3 separate regions of the Homo sapiens genome follow, and regions 1 and 3 are each linked to region 2. Evidence: promoter capture Hi-C in human tissues and cell types (Jung and others, 2019). All regions are on one chromosome and are shown on one strand. Each heading gives the region's core, a stretch centred on a gene start or on the middle of the fragment in contact. The rest is flanking DNA. Distances are from core to core; before and after follow the strand shown.

Region 1 (3,259 bases), core at 1-2,500, 280 kb before region 2:
CTCTATTTTTTTCACTCATCAAATGGGGCTAATAATAGTACCAGCTGTGTTTGGTGGCTCACACCTGTAATCCCAGCACTTTGGGAGCCTGAGGCCAGTGGATCACTTAAGTACAGGAGTTCAGGACCAGCCTGGGCAACATCATGTTGAGAGGTGGAGCCAGCTGGACTTGTGGGTCGAGTGGGGACTTGGAGAACTTTTCTGTCTAGCTAGAGGATTGTAAATGCACCAACCAGCACTCTGTAAAAATGCACCAATCAGCGCTCTGTGTCTAGCTAAAGGATTGTAAATGCACCAATAAGCACTCTATAAAAATGCACCAATCAGCGCTCTGTGTCTAGCTAAAGGATTGTAAATGCACCAATCAGCACTCTGTGTCTAGTTAAAGGATTGTAGATGCATCAATCAGCACTCTGTAAAAATGCACCAATCAGCGCTCTGTGTCTAGCTAAAGGATTGTAAATGCACCAATAAGCACTCTATAAAAATGCACCAGTCAGCACTCTGTGTCTAGTTAAAGGATTGTAAATGCACCGATCAGCACTCTGTAAAAATGCACCAATCAGCACTCTGTAAGATGGACCAATCAGCAAGACATGGGTGCAGACAAATAAGGGAATAAAAGCTGGCTACCCCAGCCAGCAGCTGCAACCTGCTCGGGTCCCCTTCCACACTGTGGAAGCTTTGTTCTTTCACTCTTCACAGTAAATCTTGCTGCTGCTCACTCTATGGGTCCACACTATCTTTACAAGCTGTAACACTCACTGTGAGGGTCTGCAGCTTCATTCCTGAAGTCAACGAGACCACGAACCCACCGGGAGGAACAAACAACTCTGGACACGCCACCTTTAAGGGCTATAACACTCACTGCGAAGGTCTGCGGCTTCACTCCTGAAGTTAGCAAGACCACGAACTCACCGGAAGGAAGAAACTCTGGACACATCTGAACATCTGAAGGAACAAACTCTGGACACACCATCTTTGAGAGATGTAACACTCACTGCGAGGGTCCGCAGCTTCATTCTTGAAGTCAGAGAGACCAAGAACCCACTGGAAGGAATAAATTCCGGACACAGTGTGACCCCATTCCTACAAAAAATATAAAATTTAGCTGGGTGTGGTGGCATGCACCTGTGGTCCCAGCTACTCGGGAGGCTGAGATGAAAGGATTACTTGAGCCCTGGAGATCCAGGCTGCAGTGAGCTGAGATTGCACCACTGCATTCCAGCCAGGGTGACAGAATGAGACCATGTATCAAAATAATAATAATGACAGTACCTATCTCATAGGGTGGTTCTGAGCATTGAATGAGGTAAGACCTGGAACATAACAATAACTGATTTTTAAAAATAATTTAAAAAATCTAAGTGTTACCAAAATACCAGGGGTTCAGTCTTGGTCCTGCTGCTCACCACACAGAAAGCCAATGACTGGGACAATGACTACTGCCAAGGAAGAAGGCTTTAATCAGGTGCTGCAGCCAAGGAGATGGGAGCTCAGGCTCAAATCCATCTCCCTGACTGACTAAATCTAGGGGTTTACATAACAGGGAAGAAATGTAACAATGTATAAGAAAACAGGAAGGGGCAAGGAAGCAATCATGATAAATGAGGGGTCCCATACCTCATTGTTCTGATGTGGTGATCTTGTGAGTTTCAGTTCTTTGATAGTTTTTTTTTTAAATTTATTTTTTATTTTTTGAGAGGTCTGAAGATGTTTTCTGAGGAAGGAACTCAGACAAAACAAATGTAAGTTTCAAGCTTTAAGACCAGAAGCGGCCAGACATGGTGGCTCATGCCTGTAATCCCAGCACTTTGGGAGGCTGAGGTGGGCAGGTCACTTGAAGTCAGGAGTTCGAGACCAGCCTGGCCAACATGGTGAAACCCCGTCTCTACCTAAAATACAAAAATTAGCTGGGCGTGGTGGCGCACACCTATAATCCCAGCTACTTGGGAGGCTGAGACAGGAGAATGGCTTGAACCCGGGAGGTAGAGGTTGCAGTGAGCCGAGATTGTGCCCCCACACTCCAGCCTGGGCAACATAATGAGACTTCATCAAAAACAAAAACAAAACGAAATAAAAACAACAACAACGAAACAACCAGAAGAGTCGATTTCCATGTTTAAAGAAAAAAAAGAAGTCTGTGTGTGGATCTATTGGGTCGGTTTCATAAGCATGTTACACTGTGTTCATGCAAGCATTTTTTGAGTGGCCCTTGATTCTGTCCAAATTTCTTCAGCTAACCTGATAGTGAAAACACTGGAAGTACGACATCATCTACTTTAAAGTTGGTAAAAACTAAAGCTCCTGGTCACAAAAGGGATTTCACTCAGTGCCTTTGGGAAGAGAAGGACGGAAAATTGCATAGCAACTAGAAGACAGGCTCCCCAGAGGGAGAACAGAGCTGTGGCCAACCCCTGGAGCACTCATAACTGAGATCATTTTATTGTGCCCTCTCCTGAGAGGATGGTGTTTGCACACAGCAGAGACATACAAAGGTGGCCCCTTAGCCTCCACGGGCAGGGACTGTGCTCTGCTTCCCGGCTGCAATACCTTTGTACCTGCGCCCCCTTGTGGGAAGTCCCACAGTCTTTCCAGAAGTGGGGTGCAGAAAAGGGTGTTAACCTAGACCAAAGAAACGGTGCTAACCAAAACTAAGAAAAGGGAGCCAACCTAGGGCAAAGTAAAGGTGCTAACCTGGACCACGGAAGGGAGCTAACCTGGACTAAGCACCTCAGGCTAGGAGTCAACTTTGCACCTGACATCATGCATGACCTCACTTAACATATCCATGAGGTGGCTTTGCAAATATGGAAACTGAGAGATACAGACAGACAAACAAAGAAAAACTTGCCTAAACTCATCTCATTAGGAAGCATCAGAACCAACATTCAAATCCAGATCGGTCTCCAATTCAGAGCTCACACCCTTTCTCCAATATTGCATTGTAGATGTGAAATGAAGTCAACCAGCCTATTTGTAGATCCAGCTGTATCACAATTCCATTATTCCATCCTATGTAATATCCCAAAATATGAAAACATCCCCCTACCCTCTAGAAAAAAAATATTTCACAATGGTCATGCCAGCAGGAGTGAGGTGGAGCTTGGGGCTATTATCTAAATGCCTTGTTATAACATGCATAATTTTCAAGATAAACTGTTCAACCAATTCTTAAATCACTGACCCATATAAACACAATAATCCCATGTATTTAATACCAGTACAGCATGTCTTTTAAGACAAAGTGGTCAGAAGA
Region 2 (3,519 bases), core at 157-2,656:
AGGCGGCAGCAGCCGTAGTCAGTGCGGCAGGGCAAGATGTGTAAGGTGGGGGGCTGTTCCAGGCCACCTGGGGTCAAGGTGACCCGACAGCGCCCCTCCAGGCTGTAACGCACAGTGGCCAAGGAGCGCTGCAGATGCGACTGGAACCAGCGCAGCACCAGAGTAGCAGAGAGGTGACGCCGCCCGCGCACATCCACGCAGAAGGCATCAGCAAAGGGTTTGCAGTCCCGAAGCCAGTGGCCCCCCGAGGCCCCCGATGGTGAGGGTGGTGCCTTGAGGGCGCACAAGAAGCAGCCGCGGAAGGCCGGGGCCAGCGCTGGCTCCTCGCCCAGGCTCCGTGGCTCCAGCGCCACAAGCGGCGGGAGGCGCAGTGGCACCAGCACGTCGAAGCTGTCGGGCCGGCGGATTTTATGTTGCTCGTAGGCGCTGCCCACCTGGATGAAGTCTCCGCGGAAGGCCAAGGCCAGCGCTCCCCCAGGAATGAGACCGGGGGACCCCCGGGCGCGGCCAGCCCGCACCAGCTCGCCCACGATCCGGCTCACGTGCGCCTTGCTGTGGCCCAACACGTGCGGAGACAGGCGCACCTCATGCTCGTAGTAACTCTCCAGCAGGATGCTGAGGCCCGGCTCTCGGAAGTGTCTCGAGGAGAAGGCGGCGTGACCCTCCAGACGGGGAGACCCGGGCAGGAAGCGCTGCCGGACAGCGTGGCGACAGCGCAGGAGGACATAGCTGAGGAGGAGCAGGACGGCCACCTTAAGCAACGGGAAGCCGCCATCCACGCCGTCGGCGGGCTCGGCCCGGGCGCCCCCGCTTCCCCGCAGGACATGGTAGAGGCACACCAGGGCGGTGCACAGGCCGGTCACCAGGGGCCAGAAGACGCGTAGATTGAGGGTGTAGTGCACCGACATGCCGGGCGCCCGGGGCGGCGGTGGCCGAGCAGCCCAGGGGGCAAGCCCCGGCGGCGACCCAAGCCCAGCATGCGCACAGCGCCCGGGCAGCCCCGCTGTCCCCGTCTCCTCCTCCGCGGCGGCTTCCCGAACGCAGGCCCGAGGGAGGCCGCCCTCCAGCTCGGCCTCCTCTCCCAGCTCAAGTGTTCCTTCCAGCTGCGGCCCGCCCTGCGCTCTCGGGCCCCGGGCCGCGCCCTGCCCCGGCTGCGCGCTGAGTCCGGCCCAGCGGCCCTCCCCGCCCGGCGCCCCCGCGCGCCGCCGTCGGCCAGCTTCTGGCCCGGCCTGGCTCGCCTCCTACCCTGGGCGGCCCTCCTGGCTCTCCCGCCGCTCCTCTCCGCGCCTGACCCTGTTACTCGGACCCCGGGAGTTTCCTCTTCCGAGGGGGAGGCGAGGCCGCGCCAGCTAGCGGGGAGGAAATGCCGGAGTCTGGAGCCGAGCGTGGAGCTGGCGAGCCGGGTCGGCCCCCTCCCGGGCCTCCGCCTTAAAGCGACGCGGGGCGGCGGGAGGGACTTCAGGACGCTCTTGGAACTGGCCTCCCGCGGCCCACCCCCATCCTCCCTCCCCGAAGGCAGAATTGGGAAGGCCCTGATTCCGGGGCGGTAGCTTCGTCCAGGGAGCCTCTGGAGTTGCGCTCCCTTGAAGTTATACTGGGACGTTGAAAAGGAGAAAAGGGCGCACAGCCAGACTGTCCAGTCCTCCCCACCCCCACCGCACAAGCTGCGGTGGCGTGGCAGGCCCTGGCACAGGAGTGGCCCTTGCCGTCTGCCGCAGTCGTCTGTTCAAACCAGTATTCACCGAGCACCTACCATGTGCCAGGTCGGAGCCACAGTGCTGGGGAAATCATAGTTGACAAGATGGACAAGGTTTCTGTCCTTCGTGAAGCTTACAGCCTTGTAAAAATGGGAATCAAAAAAGGAAGGGGCTGGGCGCAGTGTCTCACGCCTGTAATCCCAGCACTTTGAGAGGCCGAAGTGGGCGGATCATTTAAGGTCAGTAGTTCGAGACTAGCCTGGCCAACATGGTGAGACCCCCCCCCCCGCCCCCCATCTCTACTAAAAATACAAAAATTAGCCAGGCGTAGTGGCACGCGCCTGTAATCCCAGCTGTTCGGGAGGTTCAGGCAGGAGAATCGCTTGAATCCGGGAGGCGGAGGCTGCCGTGAGCCGAGATCGCGCCACTGTACTCCAGCCTGGGTGACAGAGTGAGACTCCGTCTCAAAAAAAAAAAAAAAAAAAAAAAAAGTGGGGGGAAGGATTCCACAGCAAGAAAACGCTCTAAAATAAACAAAAGTGCCCGAGGGAGTGAGAAGGTGCTGGCTACCCTGTGGAAACCAGAGGATGACAGGGGTGACATTTGGCCTGAGACTTCATCGGAACATGCTGGTTCACCCCTGTAATCCCAGCACTTTGGGAAGCCGAGGCGGCGAGAAGATCGCTTGAGTGAGGCCAGGAATTCGAGGCTGCAGTGAGCTATGATAGCATCATTGCACTCCAGCCTGAGTGACAGAGCAAGACTCTTGTCTCTGAAAAAATAAAATAAATAAAATGAAATGAAATTAAAATAAAATTATTTTCCCAGTGGAGGAAAGGGGCACAAACAGGTTCAGCTCAGGCAGGTTCAGCTGCCCCCCTTCCCCCCTCCCCCACAAGGTTACACAGCCTTTGTAGAGCTGGGCAGAAACCAAGGGGTGGAACTCCCAGGAGGGGGCCCAGGGAAGGTCTCTTCCTCATCTGCTGGGAATTTTGGGGGTCCTTTGTCTGGGTCTACATTGGAACCTCAGTCCTAGGAAGCTTGTTTTGTTTCATAACAGGGAGCACTTCCTGAAATAATCTGATCTATTTAAATAATTGTCTTTCTTTATTCACACTCATTACACCTTCTTTGCTGGCACTGACCTTTAAAGAGAGCAAGGGTGAATATATTAAAACATGTTAGAACCCAGCTGCCACCTGGGAACCAGGACTCAAAAGATGGCTTCTGGGTTGTTCCCAGTAAATCCTAAATTGGGCCCCTGAGAGCTAAGCAGATCTGCCTTCAGATCCCATCTACTAATATTAGCTATGAGATCATCATCTACCAGTCAAGATTCTTAGGTTTGCAAGTGACAGAAACACAGCTCCAACTGGCTTAAGTGCACGCACGCATAGACACACACACACACACACATTATTGTATCATGTTAACTGAGATCCATGAGGGGATTTCAGGTACAGCTGAATCTAGGTGCCTCAATGCTATGCAGACCTGTTCTCCCTTCACTTCTTAGCTCTCTGCTTTTTAAGTGGGCTGTCCTCCCCACAGGTCCTCCATATGCCCTTGGCTGCTGTAGTCTCACATTGTCTTCAGTGCAGAAGAAAAGAGAGCCTTTCCTGTTTTTGTTTGTTTGTTTGTTTGTTGTTTGTTTGTTTTAAAGACAGAGTCTCACTCTGTTGCCCAGGCTGGAGTGCAGTGGCACGATCTCAGCTCACTGCAACCTCCACCTCCTGGGTTCAAGTGATTCTCATGCCTCAGCCTCCTGAGTAGCTGGGATTACAGGCATGCGCCACCACGCCTGGCTAATTTTTGTATTTTT
Region 3 (3,259 bases), core at 1-2,500, 320 kb before region 2:
ATACTATAGATATATAGATATATATATTATATATCTAATAGATCTATATATCATATATAGATCTATATATTATAGATATATATATTTTAGATATATAGATATATATATAATATATATATTATAGATATATATATATTATATATAATATATATAGATTTATATTATATATATTATATATATAATATATAGATTTATATATATATTATATATATAATATATATATATATAAATTAGCTGGGCATGGTAGTACATGCCTGTAATCTCAGCTACTCAGGAGGCTAGGCGGGAGGATCGCTTGAGCCAAGAAGGCTGAGGTTGCAGTGAGCTATGACCGCACCATTGTACTCCAGCCTGGGCAACAGAATGAGACCCTGTCTCAAAAAAAAAGAAAGAAAGAAATAGGAAATGTCTTATAATCAGGTAGAGGAAGGAGCAATCCTGCAAAATTCCCAGGCCAACATAGTGACTGTAACTGAGAACTAAATTTTGCCCTGAGCTTCTTATTAGCCAAGACTAAAAGGGAATCATGACAAGTTATCTAATACTCACTATGTGTGGCAATAAAAAGGAAGTATACCAGTTTTTCAAGAGGACTACACTTCCTCCCAAGATCAATTTCTGAAAATAATTTATCATGAGAACTCTTTCAAAGGGATCGAATAACAATGTAATGAAAGCCAGGACTCAGGGTCACCAGCAAACAAAGCACTCAGAAGCTCTAACTCCAAGAGGGGCTGCAGGAGTGGAGTTGGGGAGAGACTCTGGAGTCCCCTCCAGGTCATTGTGCTGCAGGAAGACAATCGCATATGGCTATCTTTGGCCAGTGGGCTGTGAGCATAAGTGACTGTGTCACTTCCAAGAGAAAGCATTCAAAAGCCAAAATGAGACCCTCTAGCTCCCCTTCCACTGCCATGGGAACCAGTGATATTCCCAAAGGGGACCCAGTCACCAGCCCGGGTTCCTGCATGACTGCATGGCTCACAGCCCACCTGCACCTACCCACAGTAGCTTTTCATGAGCAAGAAACAAACCTTTATGTTTTAAGACATTTAGATTTTGAGATAGTGTTATTTTGATGCAGCAGAGTTTAGACTAGCCTGACTGATACAAATCATTTTGGTCTTTGTTTTGAATCTTTGACAAATTTATATATATGTATGTATGTATATAACTTCATATTGTATGCGTATATGTGTATTATATGTGTATATTATATGTATATACACACAAAGATATCCATACAATTTATGTATATATTTATTCATATCTACATATATAATAGATCTACACATATAATATACATTATATATACACATTCATAGAACACACATACAAAAACACACATAGATTAGATAGACAGATAAATAGACAGATGGGTAGATAGATGATAGATAGATAGAAAGATGGATGTTATATGTGATCAGCCAACAATTAGCTTCAAGTCTGTTGGACAGTTCTCTGTTCCATTGCCATTTGACAAGAGCTTGTGTATTGCACATCTGTTTCACAGTTGGGAACAAATGCTGTAACCATACCACCTGCACTGCAACAAATACCTAAACAAACAAAGAGCTAAACCCACAGAAAAGGATTGGGAAAGAGAGAGGAGGAAATGGCCATAAGGAAATAGTCTCTCACACTGATGTCACATGAAGTGGGAGTGGCCTTCTGAGAACCTTACCCTTAGCTTCCTGTTAACTATTAGAGGAGTAAATGAGGTATGCTGCAGGTTCAAAGGAATGATACTGTTTCCTGTTGCCTTGGAAAAAGCACAAAGAGGGTACTATCCTACTTTCTTTCTTCCTGGTTTTTCTCTAGCACCTCCTCAATAAGGGCTATTGAACCATCTATTTCAATTCCTCCTTTCCATATCCCATTTAGGGTTTCTCACTTCACCATTTGAATGGTTTTCAATCACATGCCCAAGCAATGACATGTCTTCTAAGGCTGTTAATTGAGGACTCCTTACTTGATGTTGCAAGGCTTCCTGGTTCGAATGGGTCATCTAAGTATCTTGTGTTTGTCATTCAGCTAATTCAGAAATCTTCTAGGGATCAATTACATCCTAGAATATGGATGAGGTCACAGTCAAGCTATTTACCTGGCTCTCTGCCGCCTCCCACTTCTCCCCGCCTCAAGCTAACATAAGGCCAGGCCAGCCACCCACGAGTTCTGTTCTGCACCACCAAAATGATCTCACGAAACCCAGACACTCAGCCAGAATTGCTAAGGATTGTCAGGCCAAGCTTTGTGTATAATGACAAAAAACTGGGAGCAATTCAAAAATTCATCAACAGGGGATGGGCTGAATCAGTCACAGGACATCTGCACAGTGGAATACCATGGAACCGTCACAAAGAATGCTTTAGATCTACAGGTGCCAGCAGAAGATGGCCAGCTGTGATTCTTATCTTTAATCTCCTTTTCCCATCTCCTGCCCTGGGCCTGGCTAGAACATGTGATCATGAAGCCTGTGAATTGTCCAAAGGTTAATTTTTCTAATTGAGGCCATTTATTACCTGAAAGACAGGAAAGAGAAACCAGGGCCTTACAAAACAGCAAATTGACCAGCACCAAGAGCAGGAAGTTGCCCCGAGAGAGGCAAAACAAGGCCACAAAGTCCAATTTCAGCCGTACATTTTGTCTTCTTCTTCTTCTTTTTTTTTTTTTTTCTGAGATGGAAGGTCCCTCCTGTTGCCCAGGCTGGAGTGCAATGGCACGATCTCGGCTCACAGCAACCTCCGCCTCCTGGGTTCAAGCGAGTCTCCTGCCTCAGCCTCCCAAGTAGCTGGGATTACAGGCACCTGCCACCATGCCCAGCTAATTTTTTGTATTTTTAGTAGAGACGGGGTTTCAGTATGTTGGCCAGGCTGCTACCGAAGTCCTGACCTCAGGCAATCCACCCACCTTGGCCTCCCAAAGTGCTGGGATTACAGGTGTGAGCCACCGCGCCCGGCCCCCACGTTTTATCTTCTAACGGGGTGAACTTTGTCATGAAAACCCATGATTAACCTCTTAACATAAATGAAATCAATGTTCTATATGCTAGTGATGATCCTGTAAATAATGTAAGATCCCTACATACTTAAGACCCACAGTTAAAATTATGAAAATGATTCTACAGAAGTTTTTAACTAGTTCCAATGAACCATCATTTATTTGACTTAAAACAGACCAAATAATTTTTAAAAAATTGTTTTTGTTGTGGCGCGTGCCTGTAATCTCAGGTACTCAGGAGGCTGAGGCAGGAGAATTGCTT

Evidence for each region. The method cuts DNA at HindIII sites, captures the fragments that hold promoters and counts their contacts. A contact is called where the count stands out against the background at its distance.
Region 1: a fragment that was not itself captured here is called in contact with the fragment with the promoter of ITPRIPL2 in region 2 in 2 of the 25 tissues and cell types used here (H1 embryonic stem cells and dorsolateral prefrontal cortex).
Region 3: a contact is called between a fragment that was not itself captured here and the fragment with the promoter of ITPRIPL2 in region 2, in 2 of the 25 tissues and cell types used here (mesenchymal stem cells and mesendoderm cells).

Annotation. Positions count from the first base shown.
Region 1 is chr16:19,388,675-19,391,933 of GRCh38, reverse strand. All of the region lies in intron 1 of LOC105371114 (a long non-coding RNA gene), which reads left to right. Among named protein-coding and RNA genes, the nearest start is that of TMC5, 28 kb to the left of the region's middle. RefSeq lists an enhancer at 2,421-2,480. The HindIII fragment of the contact is 3,229 bases long and covers 1-2,864 here.
Region 2 is chr16:19,111,851-19,115,369 of GRCh38, reverse strand. ITPRIPL2 (ITPRIP like 2) reads right to left here and starts at 1,406. Exons shown (of 1, transcript NM_001034841.4): 1 at 1-1,406. The coding sequence starts at 908. RefSeq lists silencers at 845-1,214, 1,305-1,404. The HindIII fragment of the contact is 3,376 bases long and covers 1-2,283 here.
Region 3 is chr16:19,430,958-19,434,216 of GRCh38, reverse strand. The region is part of intron 2 of TMC5 (transmembrane channel like 5); the gene reads right to left. Among named protein-coding and RNA genes, the nearest start is that of TMC5, 15 kb to the right of the region's middle. The HindIII fragment of the contact is 5,510 bases long and covers 1-3,259 here.